Regions from separate parts of the Homo sapiens genome. Here regions 1, 2, 4 and 5 are each linked to region 3. The links are contacts of gene promoters, found by promoter capture Hi-C in blood cells and fetal thymus (Javierre and others, 2016). All regions are on one chromosome and are shown on one strand. Each heading gives the region's core, a stretch centred on a gene start or on the middle of the fragment in contact. The rest is flanking DNA. Distances are from core to core; before and after follow the strand shown. Region 1 overlaps ZNF484 (zinc finger protein 484). Region 2 overlaps WNK2 (WNK lysine deficient protein kinase 2). Region 3 holds the start of SUSD3 (sushi domain containing 3). Region 4 overlaps WNK2 (WNK lysine deficient protein kinase 2). Region 5 overlaps ZNF484 (zinc finger protein 484).

Region 1 (2,700 bases), core at 163-2,662, 200 kb before region 3:
AGGAATTACCTGCCATTGGTAGTTGAGAAAGAAGTCTGAAAAAAAAAATAAAAAAAGAATTAACTGCCATACATTTATTAAGCATAATTACTTAGGTAATTCTTAGGAATTACCTGCCATATATTTACTAAGCAAGATGTTGAGAACTTTATGTTGTGAACATCTTCACAACTTTACACAATATGCTTCAAGACATCAAAGAACTTACAACAACTTTCTAAGATATTATAAAGGGCATAAGAGATGTGCAAAGCATAGCATGACCCCAAATAGAGAGAAGAAAATTCTACATGGAGTGTAAGACTAAGTTCTGTAGAGTTGATGAAACTTAAGCTTAGTCTTGGGAGATGCCATGTTTAATGCAAGCAGAGTAGGGCAAAGTGATTTTTAGAAGGGAGCAGCATGAGCAAAGGTATAAAGACAGGAAAATACATGATAAATTCAGGGAACCACAAATTAGTCTGCATAATGAGAAGTCTGTATGCAGTGAAGGAAAGGTGTTTATGAGGAAATTTCAGTAGAGGTATGCTGGCATGAGATCATGCAACTATTTTTCCTCCAATACATAATGGACTGCCATTAAAGTAATTTATATATAGAGAAAAGATTATTAGATTTATGTTTACAACTGCCAAGAAGATGCTGGCCAGGTTGTGGAGAAATAGGAACGCTTTTACACTGTTAGTGGGAATGTAAATTTGTTCAACCATTGTGGAAGACAGTGTGGTGATTCCTCAAAGATTTAGAAGTGGAAATACCATTTGACCCAGCAATCCCATTACTGGTTATATACCCAAAGGAATATAAATCATTCTGTTATAAAGATACACGCATGCATATGTTCATTGTGGCACTATTCACAATAGCAAAGACATGGAATCAACCCAAATGCCCATCAGTGATAGACTGGCTAAAGAAAATGTGGCACATATACATCATGGAATACTATGCAGCCATAAAAAGGAATGAGATCATATCCTTTGCAGGGACATGCAGGGAGCTGGAAGCCATTATCCTCAGCAAACTAATGCAGGAACAGAAAACCAAACGCTACATGTTCTTACTTATAAGTGGGAGCTGAACAATGTGAACACATGGACACAGGGAAGGGAACAACACTCACTGGGGCCTGTTGGGGAAGGGTGGGGGGTGGGAGAGCATTAGGGAAAAAAGCTAATGCATGCTGGGCTTAATACCTAGGTGATGGCTTGATAGGTGCAGCAAACCATCATGACACACATTTACCTATGCAACAAACCTGCACATCCTGCACATGTACCCTAGAACTTAAAATAAAAAATAAAAAAAGACTATCAAGAAACAGCAGGGAGAATACATTTGAATGAGCAAGAGTGGAAGTCTAGGCAATATTTCATGTGAAAGAATTAAAACACCTTAGTTAGGGAGAAAATATTATTTAACAGGAATATAGAAAAAGAAATTGGTGTAGATAGTAGGTAATTAGAATTGATAGATGGAGTAAGAAAAAGGAGGAACTAAAGTGAAATTCTCAATTATTCGTTTTGTATACTCTGAGATTATAGTGTCATATACTGAAGTAGAGATTGATGAATGGAAAAGGTTGGAGAAAGGGAACCAGATGAAATCACTTATGTTTTGCACATATTGAGATTACAGGGATTAAACATGTAGGCAGGCATATTATAGGACGTTAGGCAGAGGCCTAGAGTGGAGATAAAGATTTGGGAGTCACCAGTAGATAATTAATAACTAAAATCATCTGAGTAAATGAGACTGCTTGAGAGGACACCTGATAAAGGAGAATGTAAAGGAAAGAATCTGAAAAAGTTACCAGCATTGAAGAAGAGGTGTCAGCAATAAAAACTGAGAAATCGGACAGAGCCAGGAGAGAGTAACGTCTTAGAATGTATGTGGGGATTAGTTGATGGGGTTGAATGCCAAGATGGATGAAAAAAGCAAAAGACAGATAAATTCTGGCTTTTGTATTTAGGAGATGTGACAGTGATAGCTAGTTGTCTTCCAACATTCACTCATCCTTTCTTCCCTAATAACAGAACATGAATTCTTAGCTGGCTACTCTGAGTAAGACTTTCTTTTCCCAGCCCACCTTAAATGTAACCAGGAAACTATACTTTGGCCACAGAGATACAGGCGATACTTCTGAGATGTCAGTTTTTAAAGGAGAAGGTGTGAGTGCCCCTTTCCTCCCCAACCTCACCATGCTGCTGGCCTGGAACGCTGACTCAGTTAATGCAACCCCAGCAAATCTCGGGAACTATCAAGTGACGTGAGGTTGAAAATCACAAAATGAGAATGACATAGAGAACAACAACAAAAAAAAAAGGTGTATAAATTTGTGAAGACATCAGGCCCTGAATGAATACTTTCAGACTTCTTTTGCTTCTTTTGTGTTTAAGCCCGTAATTCTTAGATTTCTGTTATACTAAAATGCATTTTGCCAGACAATTCTAATAAAATAGATAGAAACTGGGTTGCAATTACAGACTCTTAAGCTTTTAAGCAAAAAATTCAGTACCACGTAATAGCAAAAAGATCAGTACTTCAGGAAAATATAATTCATATTTTGAATGACAATCTAAAATACATAAAACAAAAGTTGACAAAATTACATGGAGAAATTGATAAACCTACACACGCATGGGAGACTTCCCAACTCCCCCTCCCTACTCTGAGAGATTTTAACCAGATTACATTCAT
Region 2 (2,700 bases), core at 127-2,626, 220 kb after region 3:
AGGAAACATCCAGGAGGGTGATGACTATGTTCATTAGATTGTGATGATTTTACTTATATGCCTGTGTCAAAACTTAGATATGTGCAACTTATTGTAGCAGTTATACCTAAATAAAGCTATTAAGATCCAAACAGCAGTAACAGAGCATGTCAGCAGAGGTTCCCAATGGTGGAGTTATCAGACTGAGAACTAAGTTTGCCTACTGCATTAAAAGAAACAAATGACTAGATTGAAATTTTTGTCAAAGAATTAGAAACTATGCCAAAAAAAAAGCTAAATGGAAGTTGTAGAACTGAAAAATACATTAGTTAAAATTAAGACATCAGAGGATGGATTGTACACTGCCAGAGAGAGAATCGGCAAGCTCTAAAGAAACTAAAGTAAAATAAGGATAATGAAAACAGTAGAAAATAGAAAAGAGGTGCTAAGAAATATAGAGATTACAGTGAGATGGTCAAACATCATGTAATTGGAGTCCCAGAAAACAAGAGAATGCAGCAAAAACAAGTTTGAAGAGATAATGCAGAGAATTGGAAGGCATGAAGCCACTAATTCAAGAAACTTCCAAACTCTGTAAGTTAAAAAAGAAATCTGCACTTACATATATCATAAAGTGCTGAAAATCAAAGGCACATGGGAAAATTTAAAGGATGCCCAAGAAAAAACAGGTCCTTTAAAGGTTTGGAAGCCCCTGTCTCAGTACAGATAACATATGCCAGTGGACAAGGAATAGTGCTGTCCTCGCAGTGCTGAAGGAAATAAGCCCCAACCTCAAATATCGGTAAAAGGATCTGACTTCCATGAAGATGAAATGAAGAGAAAAGCAGTCATCACCTTCACAGCTCAATTAAAGAAATACTAAAGGGAATATTTTTAGACAGAAGAACAATGACTGCAGATGAAAGGCCAGAATGCAGGTAGGAACAAAAACTGATGGAATTATAAATGTATGAGTAGATCTAAGTGAATTTTGACTGGATGAAAAAATAATGTCTTGAGGTTTAAAATGTTTGGCATGTTAAAATGCATGAAAATGGGGCATATTTATCAGGAGGCAGGAAATGCATTTAAAGGGCTCCAGGATTCCATGTTGCCTAGGCAGAGAGCCAAATCAAGAATGCAAATGATAGTCTCTAGAATAACCCCTGTGAGACTCGTAGAATAGCAGATAACCTCCACACTTGTGGAGGGGGCAGGTGGGGAAGGAATTTTTTAAAATATGGCAAAGAAGGAAAGAAACAGCAACACTGAACATGGAGAACACATAGAAATCTTTAGTAAGATGCTAGTTTTAACCCAAGTAGATCAGTAATTAAATGTAAATGGACTAAATCTCAAAGATTCTCAAAAGTGAAAAAAAAAAAACAGAACAAAGACATAAGATTATAAAAAGATTAAGAGTAAAAAACAAAAATGGAAAAAGAGCACACTAATACTCACCTAGAGGAAGCTAATGTCTATATTTTTATATCAATGTAGATTTTAAGGCAAAAACATAATGGTGAAAGATTCAACTGGCCAGGAAGATATAATAATTTAATGTTTGCTTATATTTAGTAATAAGCCCTCAAAATGCATAAAATAAAAATTAACACAACTAAAACAAATGGAGCAATTTACAATCATGGGAGATTTCAGCTTTTGGAATAGGAGACACTCAGTAGGGATAGAGAAAATTTCAACCACAGAATTAGTATCTTATATATACAGGACACTGTACTCAGTAGCTGAAGAATGCACTGTTTTTTCATGCACACAGAATATTTTTAATTTAACTTTACGCAGACCCAAAACAAATCTCAACAAGTTTCAAAGAATCAAAATCACTTGATGCATGCTTTTGATTAAAGTTGGAAGTAAACCCAAGCTCATTAACTAGAAGATAACTAGAAAATATCCACATTTGATAGTTAAGCAGTGCATTTATAAATATCTCATTCGGCAAAGAAGAAATTACAATGGAAACTAATAAAACATTCTGAATGATGATATGAACATCATGCTAATGAAAATATTACGTATCAAAATTTGTGAAATGCAGTTAACAGCATATTGAGCAGAAACTTTGTAGCCTTTAAATGCATATATTGGACAGGAGAAAAGTCTGATAGTAATAAAAGTATGTAGTGCAAAAAGTTAGCATAAGAGAAAATGGAACCCAAATAAAGAAAGGAGAAAGTAAAATAGATAAGAACATAAATTAATGAAATAGTAAACAAATATACAATAGGGTATCAACAGAGCTTAGCAACGGTTCTTTGAAATGGCTCATAGCATTAGTAAGCCCCCTGTGATGAGACTGACTAAAGGAGAGAGAAAGACATAAGTAATCAATATTAGGGATGAAAAGGGGGAGACACTGCTACAGTCCTACAAACATTAAGACAAATATAAGAATTTGAAAATTTCTTTGGATTATGTCTTAGGGAACTACAACTTACCAAACTTAAGAAGAAATAGAAAATCTGAAAGGTGCTATAAACATTAAAAAGTCAAATCAGTCATTAGAAGCCTTCTCATGTCTACCCTTCATGGTGACAAGATTGCTGGAACAACTCAGTGTGTATAGTCTTTCAGGTAGAAAATAGAGACCCTTTTTGAAAGGTTTCATACATCTGGCCCTGACTCCCATTATGCAGAACAAGGACACATTCTCTAAAGCAGTTGTGGCTGGTGGCTGGAATGTACACTGACTTGTGC
Region 3 (2,700 bases), core at 9-2,508:
TGATGGCCCTGCCCTTCCCGACATGGCAGAAAGAATACACATGCTTGATTTTGAATAAAGGAGATTGAAGTAAGCCATCGTGTGTGACCCACAAGTCCAAGTGGGAAGAACATATCAGGGGTGACGCCAACCCTGATGGCGAAAGGGGGAGGGCCCCTCACGTTTCACACTGAACCTCAGCTTTGGAGGGCTCGGAAAGCAGAGACGGGGAGGGGCTGCCCTGCTGGAACCCTGCTTCATGGTCCACCTGAACATCCACACTCTTCACGGTCACCTGCCAGGCACTCTAGAGCCAGCCTGGCCCACCTGGGCCACCTTCTGCGCTCCTGGAGGCATGCCTAAGCCAGCCGCACTGGGCTTCTGCTGCCACACATTGCCAAACCAGGGCCTTTGCACCTGCTGTTCCCTCTGCCAGGATTGCCTTTGCCAGCTCCACAGGAATAGGCATGGCTCAGGTGGTCTCCCACAAGCAGCCCAAGATCCAGGATGTCTGAGGCCTGACACCACACCCAACCCTTTGGTGGCTGCCTGGGCAGGGGGCTAAGCCTGGGTTGGGTGGGGTCAGAGGGAGAGAAAGAGCCCGGATCACAGCTCTGGGCCTGCTGCAAGTGGAGCTGGGTGGGAAGGGGAAGCCAGGAGAAGGGAGGCCTCCAGGTGTGGTGGGCCCTGCAGACAGACCCCAGGGCTTTCCATCCTGTTTCCCCCAGCCGGGGGCCCCTCAGTGAGAACCGAAGACAACAAGGGCACCCAGACCTCAGTGTGCCTCAGACGGCCTGGCCCAGTGAGAGACAGGGAAAGAAGGCTGGGTCCACACAGGACTCTGGGGGTGAGTGGGTTACGGGAGGGGCGGGCCGGGGAGGCGTTTTGCTGTTTGCCCTTTGGTACCGGCCGAATCCGGCACCCTGAGAAGGCAAAATCCTGCTCAAAAAATAAAAACACAGAAGCACATGGAAAAACCACACTAGGAGTGAAGGTGAGAACAGGAAGGGATGGGGGAAGGGTGTTGGGCAGAGGTAGCCACGCGTGCAACGCCCCGGAGTAGCAACACTTTCCGCTCAGCCGGCTGCCTTGGCCCGCTGGGTATTTGGTCTCCCCAAGGGCCCCCGCCCACAGCCCCCGGCCGGACCTCGGCCCCAGTCCAACGTGTGGGCGTGGTCTGTAAGTTGCATGGAACCGCCCCTGGGCGGGCGTGGAGGGCGGGGCCTCCCCGCCCCTCACCCAGGCCCAGGCCCAGGCCCCGCCCCCACAAGCCGGGCTCACTCCCCTGGCAGACCCCGCCAAGCGCCTCGGAGCGCGCAGGATGCGCTGGGCGGCCGCCACCCTCCGTGGCAAGGCGAGGCCCCGGGGGCGGGCCGGGGTCACCACGCCTGCCCCAGGGAACCGCACAGGTGAGGGCTGGGGCCGAGTGGCCGCGTGCGGGGCTCTGCGCCCATTTCACAGACGGGAAAGCCGAGGGGAGGGGGTCGCGGGGCCGCACAGCCGTGGGTGGGGGCCACAGCAACGATCTGCCCCGAGGACGAACCTCCTCGACCCTCCGCCGGCCCAGCAGGCGCCCTAGCGGAGCCGAAGCCTGGCAGCGAGCAGTTCGAAACCAGGCGGCTGCACGCAGCAGCCCGCGCGCCCGTTCCCGAGTGGCCGCAGCGCCTTGGTCCCGGGCGTCTGCGGACAGCGCGGCCGGCCAAGCCTCTCCACGCCGCAGGCTCCGGGCCCCTCCGCGCCCCTCCCGGGGAAGTCGAAACCGGCCTCACCTGGCGGGCGGGTGGCGCGGGGGCGGGAGGGGGGAGCCGGGAGCCCTCTCTGCGCCTGAGGGAGGTGTCATCTTCACGATTCCTTGGTGACCAGCGCAGCTCCACTTTACAGATGGAGAAACTGAGCCTGCGAGAGGGGAGTGGCTGTCCGAGGTCACCCTGTAGCCAGGCTTGGGATCGCCTCGGCTGTCTCGGAGGAGGCTCAGAGGCCTTTGGAAGGAAGAGAAGCTGCTTTTTATTTTACTTTTAAGTGTTTGAATTCAAGAATGTGCTTAAAGAGTTGTCTGCTCCCGTGCCCAAGGCTCCGGGGTTCGAATGCTGGCCTTGCTCCTTGAATGATTCTAAAGTCTAACCCTTTTAGAAACGGAACCAAACCGGAACTCTGGGTCTCAGATATCCCAAAAGCTTACTTCCGCGGCCACTGCCCACGAACGTTAGGCCTGAGGGTTCTGGGCGTCTCAGGCGTTGCGGGGCTAAGGCTCTGCGCAGGAGGAAGCTGAGGCCCGGAGTGGGGTGGGCTGGACCAGGTCACACTGTCAGCCTGCAGCCCCAGGGAACTGGCAGGAAGGTGGCAGGAGAATGGCTTCCTCTCACAGTTGGGGAAACTGCGGCTCAGGGAGCTAATTCACCGAGCAGAGGTCCGCAGCTCAGCAAAGTGGGCGCTGAGACTTGTTCCTGGCGCTGGTGGATTTGGTTTATTTAGTTTGACTCTGGCAGCCTAATGTCCAGAGTCCCTAATTTGGTGTTGGGGTGATGAGCACTTTTGCTCCTGTGTTTGAGCAAGGCCTGCCCAGGGCCTGGTACTACCTGAGGAGCCCCTTCTACTGGCACAACAGCCTGGGGGCGTGGGTGCCAGTGCCCTTTGGATAGCCTTGACTTGCCCAAGGTCAGCCCAAGGCCAGGGAGTATCTGGAGGCTCTGGCATATTTGCATACAAAAGGCTGTTTGCCTT
Region 4 (2,700 bases), core at 88-2,587, 250 kb after region 3:
GTTAAATTTTGAAATATAGAAGGATCCTGGCCTCTGTGAAGGTCAGAGAAGATGAAACGGCCCCAGGCAGGGTGGGTTGAGGCCAGGCCAGAGGATGGGCTGCGGGTGCCCAGGTGGCTGTGCCCAGGGATAGAGCAGGGCAGTGCAGCAGGCACCTCCAGAGGCCCGAGCTGACTCAAGGTGCAGGACAGGGAATAAAGCAGTGGAGGCTGGGAGCAGCAGGTGGACAGACCCCTAGGGAGTGCAAGGCCCTGCTTAGAACCCCTGTGAGCTGGGCCCCTTGGCATAGACTTCTCACCCAGCTTGCAGATGCCCCCTTGTGGTCAGCAGTTGCTGTGGGGAGCTCACATGACCCAGTGCCCCAGAGCAGTCTCCCTTTTTTTTTTTGAGACAAAGTCTGGCTCTGTTACCCAGACTGGAGTGCAGCGGCAAGATCTCAGCTCACTGCAACCTCCGCTTCCCTGACTCAAGCAATCTTCCCACCTCAGCCTCCCAAGTAGCTGGGACCACAGGTCTGCACCACCACACCCAGCTACTTTTTTGTATTTTTAGTAGAGACAGGGTCTCACCATGTTGCCTAGGCTGGTCTAGACCTCCTGGGCTCAAGCAGTCCACCCACGTTGGCCTCCCAAAGTGCTGGGATTACAGGTGGGAGCCACCACACCTGGCCCAGTGCATTCTAAGGGATGTTGGCCTTGGAGCCAGGGAGGAGGGTCAGGTGCAGATGCTGAGATGGCACCTCTGGTCGTGGTTCTGTTGGTTCTGCTTGTCAGAAGCTGGGGTCCTTCTGGATCTTCCCACCTGACCGGGCATGTTCTGGCACCCTGTGGGCCTTTCTCTCTGCACGCTGGTATCTCTTTGGGTTTTCTCCACATTGGCTGTTGGCTGCAGCATGTTTGGCTCAGGGACCCTCCGGTGTCACTGCACGATGCCTTCTAGGCCTTCTCCCACCGTGGAATGCTTTCATCCCTCCCGGTGGGGAGAGAGTGCATGCTCAGCGAGGCTCTTTGCAGCAGGTGTTCAGGAGGCCTCGGGGTGGAGGGCATCCAGAGAGGAGGGCCCCCACCCTGCACTGCGCCCACCAGGCCCTGACCTCTGCAGCCAGGGTGGTCAGTGCTGCGTACCACTGTGGGCTGTCTGTGGAGCAGGCCTGTGTGCAATGGGGCCTAGTGCAATGTGGGGTCATTTAGCTCAAGGCAACATGAAAACAGCCCCAGGTCTCCCTGGGCAGAGCCAAGGCAGATCCTGCTTCCCAATGCATGCTTTGTGGACAGTTTTTGGCTCAAGAACATGGTTGTTCAATACGTAGACACCTTAAAAGGGGTTTTGTCCCTGGATGCCCATTTTTCTCCTGTGCCAGAAAAGGGAGCCAGTGCTGACCATGGCGGGGGCTGACCCACCTGAGGGTGCGCGGGAAGTTGTGGGGGACTGAGGTGAAGCCGCCAGGGCACCCATGATGGGAGGTGGGCTGCCCCAGCTGTCCCGTGGGCTCCTGGGCAGTATTGAGCCCTGTGAGGTGAAAAGCGAATGTGGGGATTGCTCAGGGGCTGACCACTTTTTAGTCCCCCTGTCCCAGGCACACACCCTCAGTTTGAATCCTTCTTGGTTGAGATGTCTTCTTGGCCACAGGCTGAGGGTCTGGATGGGGCAGGTGCTCGGGCTACCCAGAGGGCAGGGCCGTTGACCCAAGAGCAGGCTGTTTTTGTGCCATGGCTGGAGTGGGGAGGGAGCCTCCACTTGCGCCTGGGGGGCTTCAGCTGATGTCGGCTGCACAAAAGCAGGAGATGCCAAGTCCAAGAGCCGGCCCTCCTGTCGTCCTGTGTGCTGCCACTTTTACATTCTGGGAAGAAAGCAGCGGATCCCCCAACAGCTGGGATGAGGCTGCCAAGCCCCCGCCCCAGCACCACTGAGCAGTCCAGGGCCTTGGCGCCGCCTCTTCCTGGGCCTGGCTGGGGATGGAAGCCCCACAGGGAGACCGAGGTGGGCCTGGCGTCAATTGGCAGCCTCCTGAAAGTTTCCTTTGTTCTCCCGTTGCTGCCTTATGGACAGGAGGTGGGGGTGCTTTTCCTGGCACAGAGCGAGTGGCAGGGGGCCAGGTGGGGGCTGTCTTTGGGTGCCATCTGCATGGTGGGCAAGTGAGGGGCAGGGCCCAATCGAGGCCGAGGCTCTGGAGAGGTGGACTAAGGAGCCACCTAAGGACGGGCAGGGCTGTCCAGAGTGTGGGGAGGTCTCTGCCCCAGCCCAGTTGTCTGCAGTGAGTGGCGTCCGACAGCATGGCCTTGAAAGACTGGCACCCATCAGTTTGTCTGGAGGTCTAGGAGCCGTCTGCACACTGGTCACTGGGGCCCAAGTTTAGGAGGGGCCCAAGTTTAGGAAGGGCCCGTGGAGGCCTCCGTGGGCCAGGGTTGCTCCCTGGCTCTGAGCAGGTGCCGTGTCCTCCAGACACTCCAGACCCCAGGTTCCCAGGACAGTGAGTGAGTCCCAGCTCTGATCGCAGGTCCAGGCTCCCTCTGGTGGTTCCCAGCCGGCAGCCGGCCTGTTTGATGGTGTTCTTCCCAGCATGGCAACAGCCAGGAATTAGCACTGAATGTAGAGTTCCAGCCACACCAAGAGCTGCCAGATAGACACAGAGCAGCTTTTTGAAGCACCTGGCTTAGGACTGTCTACATGGGACCATGGGCCACAGCCCCCGACAAAGCC
Region 5 (2,700 bases), core at 73-2,572, 210 kb before region 3:
ATACTAAAGGGTGTTCCTCAGTAAGAAGCAAAATAATTCTAGAGGAAAACTTAAAGGACAGGAAGGAATAAAAAAGTAATTAAAATGATAAATATGTGGGTTAATTTAAATGGATATTGACTCAAATAATGATTGGCTATGTTCACCATGTACAGAATCCAAATATACAAAATTAATACCATATAAGAGACAAATAAATGAAATTATAATGTTATAACTTCTCCCCTTGTCCAGAAATGTTAGTACTAATTTACATTAGCTTTTAATCCATATGTATATTAGTATCTGACATAGTACATTTAAGGCAAAAAATTACTAGAGATAAAAAGAAACATCTAATAATGATAATGTGTCAATTAACCAGGAAGATTACAACAATTCTAAATTGTATGTAAAATCAAAGACAAAATATATAAAGCAAAAATTAGTAGCTCTAAAGGAGACAAATTCACAATTATTTGTAAAATTACAACACAGTTCTTTCAGTATTTGATAGAAGAAAAGACAAAAAAGTCTATTCAAATACAGAGAATTTGAAAAACAAAATTAATTAAGATTAGTTTGTAGAGATTGTGAGGAGATAAAAGGAGAAGTCTTCCAAATGTTCAACTACATTTTATCTTCTAAGGACACAAACTAAAATTCAAGATGCTTGTGTCTCATGGTAATCTAGCAAGTAACGAACATGTAGAGAATGTACTAACAAAATTAGTGGGAAAAAATTTTAGGATTTGATATCCATTTTCTTAATTTGTCCTATTTTTCAAACAGGAGTTGGTAACAACAACATCAAAAAAGTGCAGGTTTCTGTGGTGAAAGCTGAGGATCTAAAGTGCTGCTATCTAGACCTGGGTCCCTGTATCTAAGTTCCATGATCGTAGGGCCAGTTCTAAGGTAATAATATAGACTTTTGAGAAATAGGCAAAGAGCAATTTCAGACCTCTTGGCTAACTGCTGCCCCAGCATACGCCAACAGATATAACAATAAATAATGGTGACTTCCCAAAGAAAATTTTAAAAAAAGTAGAGTCCTTTCTTTCTGTCTTTAGTGTTTTCACAAAAACTGCTGATTCACTTTCATTATAGACCTAAATTGCCCTCTCTTTGCCTTGATCTCAGTGTCCTTAGGCTGCTTAGACAATGTAAAATTATCTCATCATACTACTCATTATGAATTTTTGCGGGTCAATATTGAATAGTTGTGGTACCCAGAACATGAAAAACTCAACAGCCATGAATTTATAAAACTGTTTGCCCAAAAAGTGAAACAAGAAAGACTGCCAATCATCTCCTTGCACATTTACTATTATTTGCAGGAGCTTGACAACACCAATATCAAGTAACCAAAGATGGCCACTATACATTGCTTAAACACTCTCAAAAGTGTCTCCCCATATGTGTAACTACACATCAGCTATATGATCCAGATGTTCATAATTCTAACTAGATAGAAGAAAGTTGGCCTTGGTCACCTTCTGAGTCCCCACACCATAATTGTGGCATGGAGCACTCTACTTCCCCATTGTCAGATTTCTGAGGCATACTGAGTTGTGGCTTCCAGTTTAAGGCTTTCCCCAAGTCACTGCACTTATAGGGTTTCTGTTTAGTATGAATTTTCTGGTGTTTAATAAGATTTGATCTGATGGTGAAGGCCTTTCCACACTCAGCACATATATATGGTTTCTCTCCTGTGTGAATTCGATGATGCTCATGGAGTTGTGATTTCTTAATGAAAGACTTGCCACAGTCACTGCATTCATAGGGTTTCTCTCCAGTATGAATTCTCCTGTGTCTATTTAAGTGTGACTTCTGGATGAAGGATTTCCCACATTCATTACAAATATAGGGTTTCTCTCCTGTATGAATTCTCTGATGCATAATTAGTGTTGATTTTCTTGCAAAGGCTTTCCCACATTCACTGCACTCATAATGCCTTTCTCCAGTATGGGATTGCTGATGTATATGGAGACCTGACTTCCTAGTGAAGGCTTTCCCACAGTCACTACATTTATAAGGTTTCTCTCCAGTGTGAATTTTCTGGTGTGTAAAGAGATTTGATCTGTCAGTAAAAGCCTTTCCACATTCAGCACACCTATAGGGTTTCTCTCCTGTGTGAATCTGCTGATGTACGTGGAGCTGTGATTTCTTAGTGAAGGATTTCCCACAAATACTGCATTCATAGGGTTTCTCTCCAGTATGAATTCTCTCATGTGTAATAAAATGGGATTTGTGGAAGAAGGCCTTACCACATTCAGTGCAAACATATGGTTTTTCCCCTCTATGAATTCTCTGGTGCATACTTAATGTTGACTTCTGAATGAATGCTTTCCCACATTCACTGCATTCATAATGTCTCTCTCCAGTATGACACTTCTGATGTATCCTGAGCCGAGACTTCCAGGTGAATGATTTTCCACAGTCGCTGCATTTATAAGGTTTCTCTCCAGTATGAATTTTTTGGTGCTTAATGAGATTTGACCTGTCAGTAAAGGCCTTACCACACACAGTACATATATAGGGTCTTTCTCCTGTATGAATTTTCTGGTGTATAATGAGATTTGTCTTGTGAGTGAAGACCTTCCCACATTCTGAACATATAAAGGGATTCTCTCCTGTGTGAATTCGCTGATGCACATGGAGTTGTGATTTTTTAATAAAGGATTTCCCACAGTCACTGCATTCATAGGGTTTTTCTCCAGT

What was found. Contacts are between HindIII fragments. The CHiCAGO score rates a contact against its expected background, and 5 or more counts as called.
Region 1: a fragment that was not itself captured here is called in contact with the fragment with the promoter of SUSD3 in region 3 in 5 of 17 cell types (naive CD4 T cells, non-activated CD4 T cells, total CD4 T cells and 2 more); the score reaches 8.9 in naive CD4 T cells.
Region 2: a contact is called between a fragment that was not itself captured here and the fragment with the promoter of SUSD3 in region 3, in 1 of 17 cell types (neutrophils). The highest score is 6.3, in neutrophils.
Region 4: a fragment that was not itself captured here is called in contact with the fragment with the promoter of SUSD3 in region 3 in 4 of 17 cell types (total CD8 T cells, naive CD4 T cells, neutrophils and 1 more); the score reaches 5.8 in total CD8 T cells.
Region 5: a fragment that was not itself captured here is called in contact with the fragment with the promoter of SUSD3 in region 3 in 4 of 17 cell types (non-activated CD4 T cells, naive CD4 T cells, activated CD4 T cells and 1 more); the score reaches 7.6 in non-activated CD4 T cells.

What each region holds. Positions count from the first base shown.
Region 1 is chr9:92,862,131-92,864,830 of GRCh38, forward strand. The region is part of intron 2 of ZNF484 (zinc finger protein 484); the gene reads right to left. Among named protein-coding and RNA genes, the nearest start is that of ZNF484, 15 kb to the right of the region's middle. The HindIII fragment of the contact is 2,162 bases long and covers 332-2,493 here.
Region 2 is chr9:93,281,111-93,283,810 of GRCh38, forward strand. All of the region lies in intron 19 of WNK2 (WNK lysine deficient protein kinase 2), which reads left to right. Among named protein-coding and RNA genes, the nearest start is that of WNK2, 98 kb to the left of the region's middle. The HindIII fragment of the contact is 3,407 bases long and covers 1-2,700 here.
Region 3 is chr9:93,057,443-93,060,142 of GRCh38, forward strand. SUSD3 (sushi domain containing 3) reads left to right here and starts at 1,259. Exons shown (of 5, transcript NM_145006.4): 1 at 1,259-1,388. The coding sequence starts at 1,301. RefSeq lists silencers at 974-1,423, 1,434-1,843 and enhancers at 1,354-2,334, 2,335-2,700. The HindIII fragment of the contact is 6,174 bases long and covers 1-2,151 here.
Region 4 is chr9:93,302,550-93,305,249 of GRCh38, forward strand. The region is part of intron 26 of WNK2 (WNK lysine deficient protein kinase 2); the gene reads left to right. Among named protein-coding and RNA genes, the nearest start is that of WNK2, 120 kb to the left of the region's middle. The HindIII fragment of the contact is 5,309 bases long and covers 1-2,700 here.
Region 5 is chr9:92,844,785-92,847,484 of GRCh38, forward strand. ZNF484 (zinc finger protein 484) reads right to left here. Exons shown (of 5, transcript NM_031486.4): 5 at 1-2,700. The coding sequence ends at 1,444. Among named protein-coding and RNA genes, the nearest start is that of ZNF484, 32 kb to the right of the region's middle. The HindIII fragment of the contact is 3,007 bases long and covers 1-2,700 here.